Regions from separate parts of the Homo sapiens genome. Here region 1 is linked to region 2. The links are contacts of gene promoters, found by promoter capture Hi-C in blood cells and fetal thymus (Javierre and others, 2016). All regions are on one chromosome and are shown on one strand. The core of a region is centred on a gene start or on the middle of the fragment in contact, and the rest is flanking DNA. Distances in the headings are between cores, read along the strand shown.

What was found. Contacts are between HindIII fragments. The CHiCAGO score rates a contact against its expected background, and 5 or more counts as called.
Region 1: a fragment that was not itself captured here is called in contact with the fragment with the promoter of FPR3 in region 2 in 1 of 17 cell types (total CD4 T cells); the score reaches 6.2 in total CD4 T cells.

The regions. Positions count from the first base shown.
Region 1 is chr19:36,749,973-36,755,096 of GRCh38, reverse strand. ZNF850 (zinc finger protein 850) reads left to right here. Exons shown (of 5, transcript NM_001193552.2): 5 at 4,293-5,124. Among named protein-coding and RNA genes, the nearest start is that of ZNF850, 20 kb to the left of the region's middle. The HindIII fragment of the contact is 2,006 bases long and covers 2,751-4,756 here.
Region 2 is chr19:51,791,835-51,796,965 of GRCh38, reverse strand. It overlaps FPR3 (formyl peptide receptor 3), which reads right to left and starts at 1,809. Exons shown (of 2, transcript NM_002030.5): 1 at 1,635-1,809. The HindIII fragment of the contact is 12,110 bases long and covers 1-5,131 here.

The DNA.
Region 1 (5,124 bases), core at 2,504-5,003, about 15 Mb after region 2:
TGAGACCAGTTTCTGGAAGTGTGTTCAGACTTACTTCACGCACTGCTGAATTGTCAGTGTTTTTGTGGGGGTGGGGATTCACGTGTTCCTGTGCTTTCTTTTAATTGCTGCGTGTAGAATTCTCACATGTTCAACATATCATGCTTGTTAATTTGATGTAAAGATCCTCTGTATCCTTTTATATTTTCTGGGTGCTTGACCTCTCAGTTATTAAAAGAGGTGTATTGAAATCTCCCACAATCAGCCGTGCGTGGTCGCTCACGCCTGTAATCCCAGCACTTTGGGAGGCCGAGGTGGGTGAAACACAAGGTCAGTAGCTCAAGACCAGGCTGGTCAAGATGGTGAAACCCCATCTCTACTAAAAATACAAAAAATTAGCCGGGCGTGGTGGCAGGCGCCTGTAATCCCAGCTACTTGGGAGGCTGAGGCAGGAGAATCGCTTGAACTCGGAGGGCAGAGGTTGCAGTGAGCTGAGATCGTGCCACTGTACTCCAGCCTGGGTGACAGAGTGAGACTCCATCTCAAAAAAAATAACTAAAAAAAAGAAATCTCCCACAATCAAGATGAAGCCTAAACTTTTTGTATTTTCTCAATTTTTACTTTGCATATTTAGAGTTTATTTTACTGGATGCTTACAAATTTAGAATTGTTATATCTTTTTGGTGAATGAACGTTTTATTATGTAGTAATCCTCTTTATTCCCAAGAATGTTTTCACCTTAAAGTCTATTTTTTTCCAGTGCTAAGACCCTAGCTTTCTATTCATGAATACTTGCCTGATTTTCATTTTCTTAGTTTTTACTTCAACTTTTTTGTGTCCTCATGTTTTTAGTCACTTTTTATTTTAAAAGGGTTGAAATTTACTTTTTCTTTGTTTACATTCCTTATAATTAGTGATGTATTTGGATTTTTTTTTTTTTTTTTTTGAGACAGGGTCTCTCTCTCTCTGTTGCCCGGGCTGAGTGCAGTGGAGCAATCACAGCTCACCACAGCCTCAACCCCCTAGGCTCAAGCAATCTGCATACCTCAGCCTCCCGAGTAGCTGAAAATACAGGCACAATCCACCTCTCTTGGCCTGTTTGAATTTTTTTAACCAGCTTATTCTATTTGTCTCACTTTTCCTGTCTTCTGTTGCCTGTTTTATTTTACACTGTTTTAGATTTGAGGTTTTAAAAAAATCTGATGCCCATACTTAGTTCGATTCCACTGATTTGGAAGTTGAAAGCATGGACTCTTGAGCCAGATTGCCTCCATTCAAATCCTAGCTCTGCTATTTAATACCTCTATGACTTTTGGCAATTTACTTAACCTCTCTGGTCCTCATTTGCAAATATATATGCTATTCACAGGATTCTTCTGAAGATTAAATGAGCTTATATAGTAAATGTGTAAAGCAGTGAAAATAGTGCCTGGCATATAGCAAGCATGGTGTGTAAGCTATTTTTTTTTTTCCTGTCCATTTTGTTCTTATTATTGGGATTTCATCATGCATAATTTTTTTTTAAGAGACAGGTTCTCCCGTGGTCACCCAGGCTGGAGTGCAGTGGCTTGACCACAGCTCATTGCAGCATTGACTTTCCGGGCTCAGGTGATCCTCCCGCCTTAGCCTCCCGAGTACCTGAGGCTACAGGCATGTGCCACCACACCCGGCTTTTTTTTTTTTTTTTTTTTTTTTGAGACAGTGTCCCAGGCTGTTGCCCAGGCTGGTCTTGAACTCCTGGGCTCTGGTAATCTTGCAGTCTTGGCATCCCAAAGTGTTGGGATTAGAGCCATGAACCACCATGCCTGGCTTATAGAACTTTTACTTTTTTTTTTTTTTTTTTTTTCCTGAGATGAAGTCTCGCTCTGTCGCCCAGGCTGGAATGCAGTGGCACAATTTCGGCTCACTGCAAACTCTGTCTCCTGGATTTAAGCAATTCTTCTGCCTCAGCCCCCTGAGTAGCTGAGAATTCAGGCGTGCACCACCATGCCTGGCTTATTTTGTATTTTTAGTAAAGTCGGGGTTTTGTCATGTTGACCAGGCTGGTCTTGAATTCCTGACCTCAGGTGATCCACCTGCCTCAGACTCCCAAAGTGCTGAGATTACAGGCGTGTGCCACCGCACCTGGCCCCGTAGAACTTTTAAAATTTACCATCCATGGCACTCATGGCACCTCAGATTTTTTTTAGAAAACCTCATCACTTCTGAATAAATTTTAGCTGTTCCATCTTGAATATAGTTTGCTCCCTGTTCTTTCAGTATTACTTTCAGGAAGACAAATGAATTCTTTGACTTTTCTTTATGACTTTTAACCTTGCTTTTGCATTTCCAGTTATTTAACCATTCCAGTGAGGTTTTGTTGTTGATTTCTTTCTCTTTTTCTCCTTGAAATTTATATGTTGAAGAAACTGGATCATCTGTCATTTAACATTTAGCTCTCCTCCCTTTACTCCTTTCTTTCCTATAAACAGACTATGTGATATTAGTATTGTGTATTTCATCAAGAAGCACATATCTGGTTGTTTCTGTTTTTGTGAAGTTAGCAGCCATTCCTCATCTCATCCCCTAAAAATTACTAGGTAATTTTAAAATTGTCCTTATGAACACACAGATTTAAAAAAATTTGATGTGATTTATTGTAATTACATTACAATGATTACAGTTTTTATTCTTGAATTCATGCTCAACTTGTCCCATCTTTGGCCAATGGGACCCTCTTCACAATGGTTCCTGAGTCTTTTTGACATGACCCTAGGAGTCTTGAATAAGCTTCTTTGCTTTTCTAATATGCCAGCTTTTTCCATGCTCATAATGCACACTTTCTGTTCTAATCCCAAGATGCTCCAAGGAGCCTAGGTTCTGTGTAGTAAGAAATGGTATTTAGAGACAGTAATCTGTCATTAGCGTGTTCATTGCTGCCAGATTGGTTGTTTCTAAGGCTTCAATGGATGAAGATGTATAGTATTTTTTAAAAATCATGATTGCACTCTTATACTGCCAATTCAAATTCATTCATTGAATTTTAAGTTTCAATGATTCATTTTTTAATTTTTAGATACTGATACCCCATTTGTGTCTTTTACAAAAATTTGCTTGGCCTTTTTGCTAGTGAGATGTTACTTTCTCACTTTAAAAAAGTAAACTTTAGGTTTTAGGATAGTTTTAGACTTACAGAAAAGTTGTGAGGTTAGTACAGAGACTTCCCATATACATCACATGTAGTTTCCCATTAACATTTTATATTTGTACATTTGTCATAATTAATGAATGAATGTTGATCCTATTAAATAATAACATTGTTGAAGCAATGTTGTTATTATTATTTACCTTTCCTATGGTGCTGAGATCTATTATTATTAATGGAAACCCCTACTTTACTCAGATTTCCTTAGCTTTTTTTTTTTTTTTTTTTTTTTTTTGAGATGGAGTCTGGTTTTTGTTGCCTAGGCTGGAGTGCAATGGTACGATCTTGGCTCACTGCAACCTCAGCCTCCCGGGCTCAAGTGATTCTCCTGTCTCAGCCTCCCGAGTAGCTGAGATTACAGGCATGGGCCACACGTCTGGCTCATTTTTGTATTTTTAATAGAGACAGGGTTTCACCATGTTGGCCAGGCTGGTCTTGAACTCCTGACCTTGTGGTCCGCCCGCTTCAGCCTCCCAAAGTGCTGGGATTATAGGTGTGAGCCACTGTGCCTGGCCTCCTTAGCTTTTACCTAATGTCCTTTTTTCCTATTCTAGGATCTTGGCTAGGCTAACACATTGCATTGAGTCATTATGTTTCCCTTGGCTCCTCTTTGCTTTGACAGCTTTTCAGGCTTTCCTTGTTTGTGATTATCTCAATAGTTTTGGAGAGTACTGGCCAGGTATTTCATAGATTGTCTCTCATTTTGGGATTTGTCTGGTGTTTTTCCAGTGATTAGACTGGAGTTCAGTATTTTTAGAAGGAAGATCACAGAGATAAAATACTGTTCTCATCACATCATATAAGGGTACATACTATCACCATGTATACCATGTATGTACACCATCTTTTTTTTTTTTTTTTTTTTTTTAAGACAGGGTCTTGCTCTGTGGCCCAGGCTGGAGTGTAGTGGCACAATCACAGCTCACTGCAGCCTTGAACTCCTGGGCTCAAGCAATCCTCCTGTCTCAGACTCCCAAAGCGCTGGGATTACAGGCATGAGCCACCACGCCCAACACATCTTTAATTCTTAAGGACATTATTTTCAGTTTGTCTCCCCTTTCTACCATAGATGTTTTTATTTCTACTCAACAAGGAAATGCTATGTTTTTGCTTTCTGGTTATTTTTCAGACTCGGAGTTTAGATGTAAGACCAAAGATTCATGTTTGCCAAAAGAAATCTATGAAGTAACATCATCTCAGTGGGTGAGAATGGAAAAATGTCATAGCCTTGTGGGCTCCAGTGTCAGAGATGACTGGGAATGCAAAGGCCAGTTTCAGCACCAAGATATAAATCAGGAGCGATATTTGGAAAAAGCAATAATGACTTATGAAACAACACCAACTTTCTGCCTACAGACATCTCTCACTCTGCATCATCGGATTCATCCTGGAGAGAAACTGTATAAATCCACAGAATGTATGGCTTTTAAGTATGGCTCAGAACTTACACAACAGCAAGAAACCCATACTGGTGAAAAACTCTATAAATGTAAGGAGTGTGGGAAGGCCTTTCATCACTTTTCCTATCTTGTTAAACATCAGAGAATTCATACTGGGGAAAAGCCCTGTGCATGTAAAGAATATGGAAAAGCTTTTATTTCTGGCTCACATCTTATTCAACACCAGAAAATGTATACAGATGAGAGACCTCATGAGTGTCAGGAATCCGTGAAGGCCTTTAGACCGTCTGCACATCTTATTCAACATTGGAGAATTCATACTGGTGACAAACCTTATGAATGTAAAGAATGTGGGAAATCTTTTACTTCTGGCTCAACACTAAATCAACATCAGCAAATTCACACTGGTGAGAAACCCTATCATTGTAAGCAATGTGGAAAATCTTTTACTGTTGGCTCAACACTAATTCGACACCAGCAAATTCACACTGGTGAGAAACCGTATGATTGTAAGGAATGTGGAAAATCTTTTGCTTCAGGCTCAGCACTAATTCGACATCA
Region 2 (5,131 bases), core at 560-3,059:
CTAAATGTTGGGGTATCTCACATTCTATAAATGATATCATCCAGTCTCTGGGATTAAACCATTATGCTGTCTTTTCATCTAAATTATCAGCCGTGGCCTCTCCCTGGCACTCAAGTCTGATAAAACCTCTCCCCGTGGGAGTCCCATAGACTCCAAACCTCACATGGTTTTACCAAACTGTTGATGTTCTCTGCCTCCCAGACCTGCCACTCTTCCAATATTCTGTATCTATTTGGAGATTAAATATTCAGTTGTTAAAGCTCCAGATCTAGAACTCACCTTTCATTTCTCTTTTCCTCACCACCCAACGCCATCCACGTCTTACTCATTCTATCTACAGAACATGCTGAATGCACAGCCAGAGCCATTGCCATCTCCACGACCGGTGTCCATGGCCCTGTCAGGCTTGGATATTTGCACAAGCCTTGCAAATAGCTTTTTCCTGGTCCTGCTGCCCCCTCCCCTAAGATCCATTCTCCAGACAGAAACCAAATGAGCTTTAAAAAGGTCCAATAAGATGGTGATGTTATTCGCAATACCTTCCGATGGCTTCCAGACTTCTAAGTTACCCTTATCTTAGGTTCCCTTATCCTAGGTTCCCTTATCCACTGCCACATGTGCCCTGTGCATCCCTCAGACCTCATCTCTGCACTCTCATCAGACACACTGGGCTCCACCCACTGGGCTCTAATTCCTTGAACTTGCAGCTCTTTGTCATCTCAGGGCTTCTGCTTTCTCTATTCCTTCTGCCTACCGTGCTCTTCGTCTTGAGCTTCCTGCACCTGGCTCATCCTGAATATTCATATTTCAGGTCAAATATTATTTCAGAGAGATCCCACCTCACCCACTCTGCAAAGCAGAATGCTCAGGTACAGCCTATCTCACCAGATACTTTTCTCCTTTATTTGTTTGTTCATTTATCTTCTCTCTTAAATACCCTCCACACTAGTACGTAAGCTCCACAGGACTATCAAGATCCTTCAATGCTACATCTCTACAATGCTACATGTCCAGTAGAAATATAATGTGTTAACTTTAGCTACATATGGGACTCAAAATTTTTTTGTAGCCACTGTTTTTAAAAAAGTAAAACACCTTTGGGGAAATTATTTTAGTAATAAATTTTATTTAATTACATATATGATAAAGAATTGGCCAGTCACATTGGCTCACGCCTGTAATCCCAGCACTTTGGGAGGCCGAGGTGGGCAGATCACGAGGTCAGGAGTTGAAGACCAGCCTGGCCAACATATTGAAACCCCGTCTCTACTAAAAATACAAAAAATTAGCCAGGCGTGGTGGCAGGTGCCTGTAATCCCAGCTACTCAGGAGGCTGAGGCAGGAGAATCGCTTGAACCTGGGAGGCAGAGGTTGCAGTGGGCTGAGATTGTGCCACTGCACTCCAGCCTGGGTGACAGCGCAAGACTCCATCAAAAAAAAAAAAAAAAAAAAAAAAAAAAAGAATGTTACTGGAACATGTAACCAAATTAAACACTGTTAATGAAATAGTTAACATTGTTTTCATACTAACGAAGTGGATTCTTCACTGGACTACGCTACTCCAGAGTTAGAAGGGCTCTGTCATATAGCAGGCATTTCAACAATAACTTTAAAATTTTCAGACCCCAACTTACCACCAGCTTAGATCCTTTTCCTGTGCCCAGTTCCTGGATTCCTGTGGAGCAACTCAGGCTCTAAGTACTTGTAAAAAGATGAAGTTATATGTTTGGTTTTAAGATCTTAATTGGCTTTGGTTATAAAGATGGAATCAGACAGCCTGTCATGCTATAAAACAAAATGAGTGTTTTGATAGTTAGAGCCAAGGAAGTTGGTTTTACAGGGATAGGAGGGCTAAAGAAAGCAGAAACAGAGAACAAAAACCTGATTGGTCATCTGGATGTTGCATTTTTTTTGTGCAGCAGGAATAGAGAGACAGCAATAAGGAACAACTGATTGATTGAAGTCAAGTTACCACAGATTGCTTTTTTTTTTTTTTTGTAAAGATGAAAGCAGACAGAACTTCATGTTCATGCCCACTGAAACTGGCCTGTTTTAGGAATTTGTCCATTTTCTCTCTCTCCTGATTTCTCAAAAGTTCAGATACATTAGTTTTGGTTTGGTGATGTGGAGTTTTAGTATGACTGACTCCATTTGGTTTGCTTTGTCGAACCTAGTACAATAGGTCAGTCCAAACCACTTACTTGCTGTTTTTATAGAACAGGCTTCAGCAGAGACTTAGTTGAAGGACACGGGGACAATGGAGCTGGAATCAATCCAGTGACACAAACTCAGGGTTTCTTACCATTCCCAGAAGACACCTTGGAGATGTTCTCAGACGATTTATCTTGGAAACTTATGTGTCTGAATGTTCCTTCACCTCTAGCCTTCTGTGGGAGACTGGAGTTCATCCTTCCAAATATCAAAGGCCAAGAAATCTGAGAGTCCAGGCCCTTTCTTTTCAGAGATTCAGGAAAATGAAAGAAACAATTACCAAGGTGAGAAGAATGAGAGGAAAAACAATAAAAAAACAAAGATGCACGGTGAAACAAAAACTCGATTCTCTACTTTCACAATCCTTCTGACCAAATATACTTTTTCTCTACACCAAGAAATTCTCCAATTCTCTGGGGACACCACCTGGGCCACCTGCAATTAAAAATTCGGTTATGATGCTGTCTACCTGGATTCAGCTCAGATCCGAAAAGCTAAAGGGCTCACTCCCACAAACTGTTCTCAGATCAGATCAGACATCTGTTGCAAGTCCCAGGTGGCTACTTGTACTTCTGACTGACAGGCTATAAATTGGGTGTTCCAATGACACCAATAAATTGCTAGAATGGCACACAGAACTCAGGAAAGCACTTTGTTTGCATCTGTTGCTTTATATAAGGAATATACCTCAGGAATAGTCCATTGGAAAGAGGCATATGGCAGGTATATGGCAGGGAAGGGGTTGGGTGGTGCATGGAGCTTCCATGCTCTCTTCAGGCAGCCACTCTCCCAGCACTCCTGAGTGTTCACCAATGTGGAAGCTCATCAAATCTCATTGTTCAAGAGTTTTTATGGAACTCAATCTCCAGTCCCTGCCTCCCCTTCCTGGAGATCAGTAGGTGGGGCTGACAGCTCCAACCCTCTAATCCCTTGGTCTTTCTGGTGACCAGTCCCATCCTAAGGCCATGATCTCCTTAGCATAAACTCAGCTATGATCAAAAGGGGCTGTTTATGAATAACAAATAATACTCCTATCACTCAGGGAATTCCAAGGGTTTTAAGAGCCCTGTGCCAGAAATCTGTGACAAAATCAAATATGCTTTGAGGTATTTCATACCTCAGAGTTACAAAGAGAAGCAGTAACTAGGAGCATGTAGAGAGGTAAGGAAGGTAAATGAGAGACACTGTACACTCCACACCATTGCCGAGATTAACCCCCTAACCTTCTGCCCCTAGGGAGATGCTCTATGGACTACTGATCTAAGGAGATGGGCTCTTTCTGAGTTTTTAAACACCATCAGAATGTTGTTCTCAAGCCCAAGGAATAGAACCATGAAAAACAGTGGAGAGCCACAAAACAAGAGTCAACTATTTTCTATTTTCTCTCTGATTCACTGGATGTTTTCAGTGATAAGGTAGAGTAAACCAATGAAGCACATAAGCCATGGAGAAATTTATTATTAAAAAAAGTTTTGGAAGGGGATAGATCTGGAGTTTGAACAAAAATTGAGTTTAATGTCACCCTTCCACTCCATCATCATATTGGTTTTCTTCTAGGGCTTTCTTGAAAGTGACCACAGAATGGCTGCCACTGTTCTGGACATTGCATCAACAGGCCCTCCCGAGCCAGAATCATGAGACAGGCAGAAAATGTGACTCATTCACATGCCTCTTCCATTTTATTACAGAGGGAAACCTTGTCCAGAGTCTCTTCAGGACCTCTCCTTGTCTTTCATTGCCAGAGCATGCCATCTCTAGACCAATCAATGGCCAAGAAATAACAAAAATACCGATACATAAAAATAAAGGTCAGGGACAGTGGCTCACGCCTGTAATGCCAGAATTTGGGGAGGCCAAGACAGGAAGATTGCTTGAGCTCAGGAGTTCAAGACCAGCCTGGGCAACATAGTGAGACCCCATCTCTAAAACCAAAAAAATATTAGCTGGGTGTGGTGGTGTGGACCTGTAGTTCCAGCTACTCAGGAGGTGAAGTGGGAGGACTGCTTTGTCAGGGAAGTTGAGGCTGCAGTGAGCCATGATGATGCCACTGCCCTCGAGCCTGGGCAATGAGCAATACCTTACCTCAAAAAAAAAAAAAAAAAAAAAAAAGACAAGTTGCTCATATTGGCTTAGGCCAATCATGATTGCTTTCCTAGGACAGTGGCACATTGCTACCTGCCACCTGATTAAAATGGAATTTACTTATCAGTATAATAAAGGGTGGTGGGTATTGCATGAGGCCTCTGAAGAGGTGCTCCCTTGCTGGCTCCTGCAGACATAGAGCTTAAACAGACATGTGCCTTACCCTGGAGATGCCGACTACCCAGGTAAAGAGGTGACAGCGTCACTCTACTGTGACTAAGCATAGTCTTATGCACCCTTTGTGCACAATGGTGTCCTCTGCCATTTCCCTAAGCAGTCACAGTAGAGTGGGGGTATATAGTGATAGACAGATGCCTGGTTCATTATGAGATTTCCCAAAAGGAACAACTAACTGAGACTGACAGGGTCCAGGGTCACTTCCAAGTGCAATGCAGATAACATCCGGGATGAATCTTAAAGACTCAGATAAAGAAGCAAAAAAAAATACATTCCAGGCAGAGGAGAGTGAAAGCACGCAGGAAAGGGTCAAAAAATAGCAGGTTACCTGCGGTTATTGGAGCATAGATGGTGAGGCAGACAGCAATAAACACTGAGTGTGTAGCAAGTGGCAGAAGCCATCTGTTGGAGGGTCCTGAATGCTACAAGAAGGACTTGGAATTTCTTCATAATAACATGAATAACCATTTAAGCAGGACAGTGACTTGTCAGGTGTGTGCTTCTGAAAAATATTGTTCTGTAGTCCTGCAAAGGGATGCCTTTGAGAATGTTTCTAATTGGAGACAGAGATATTAGAATGGAGAATGTTGCCAGAAATCAA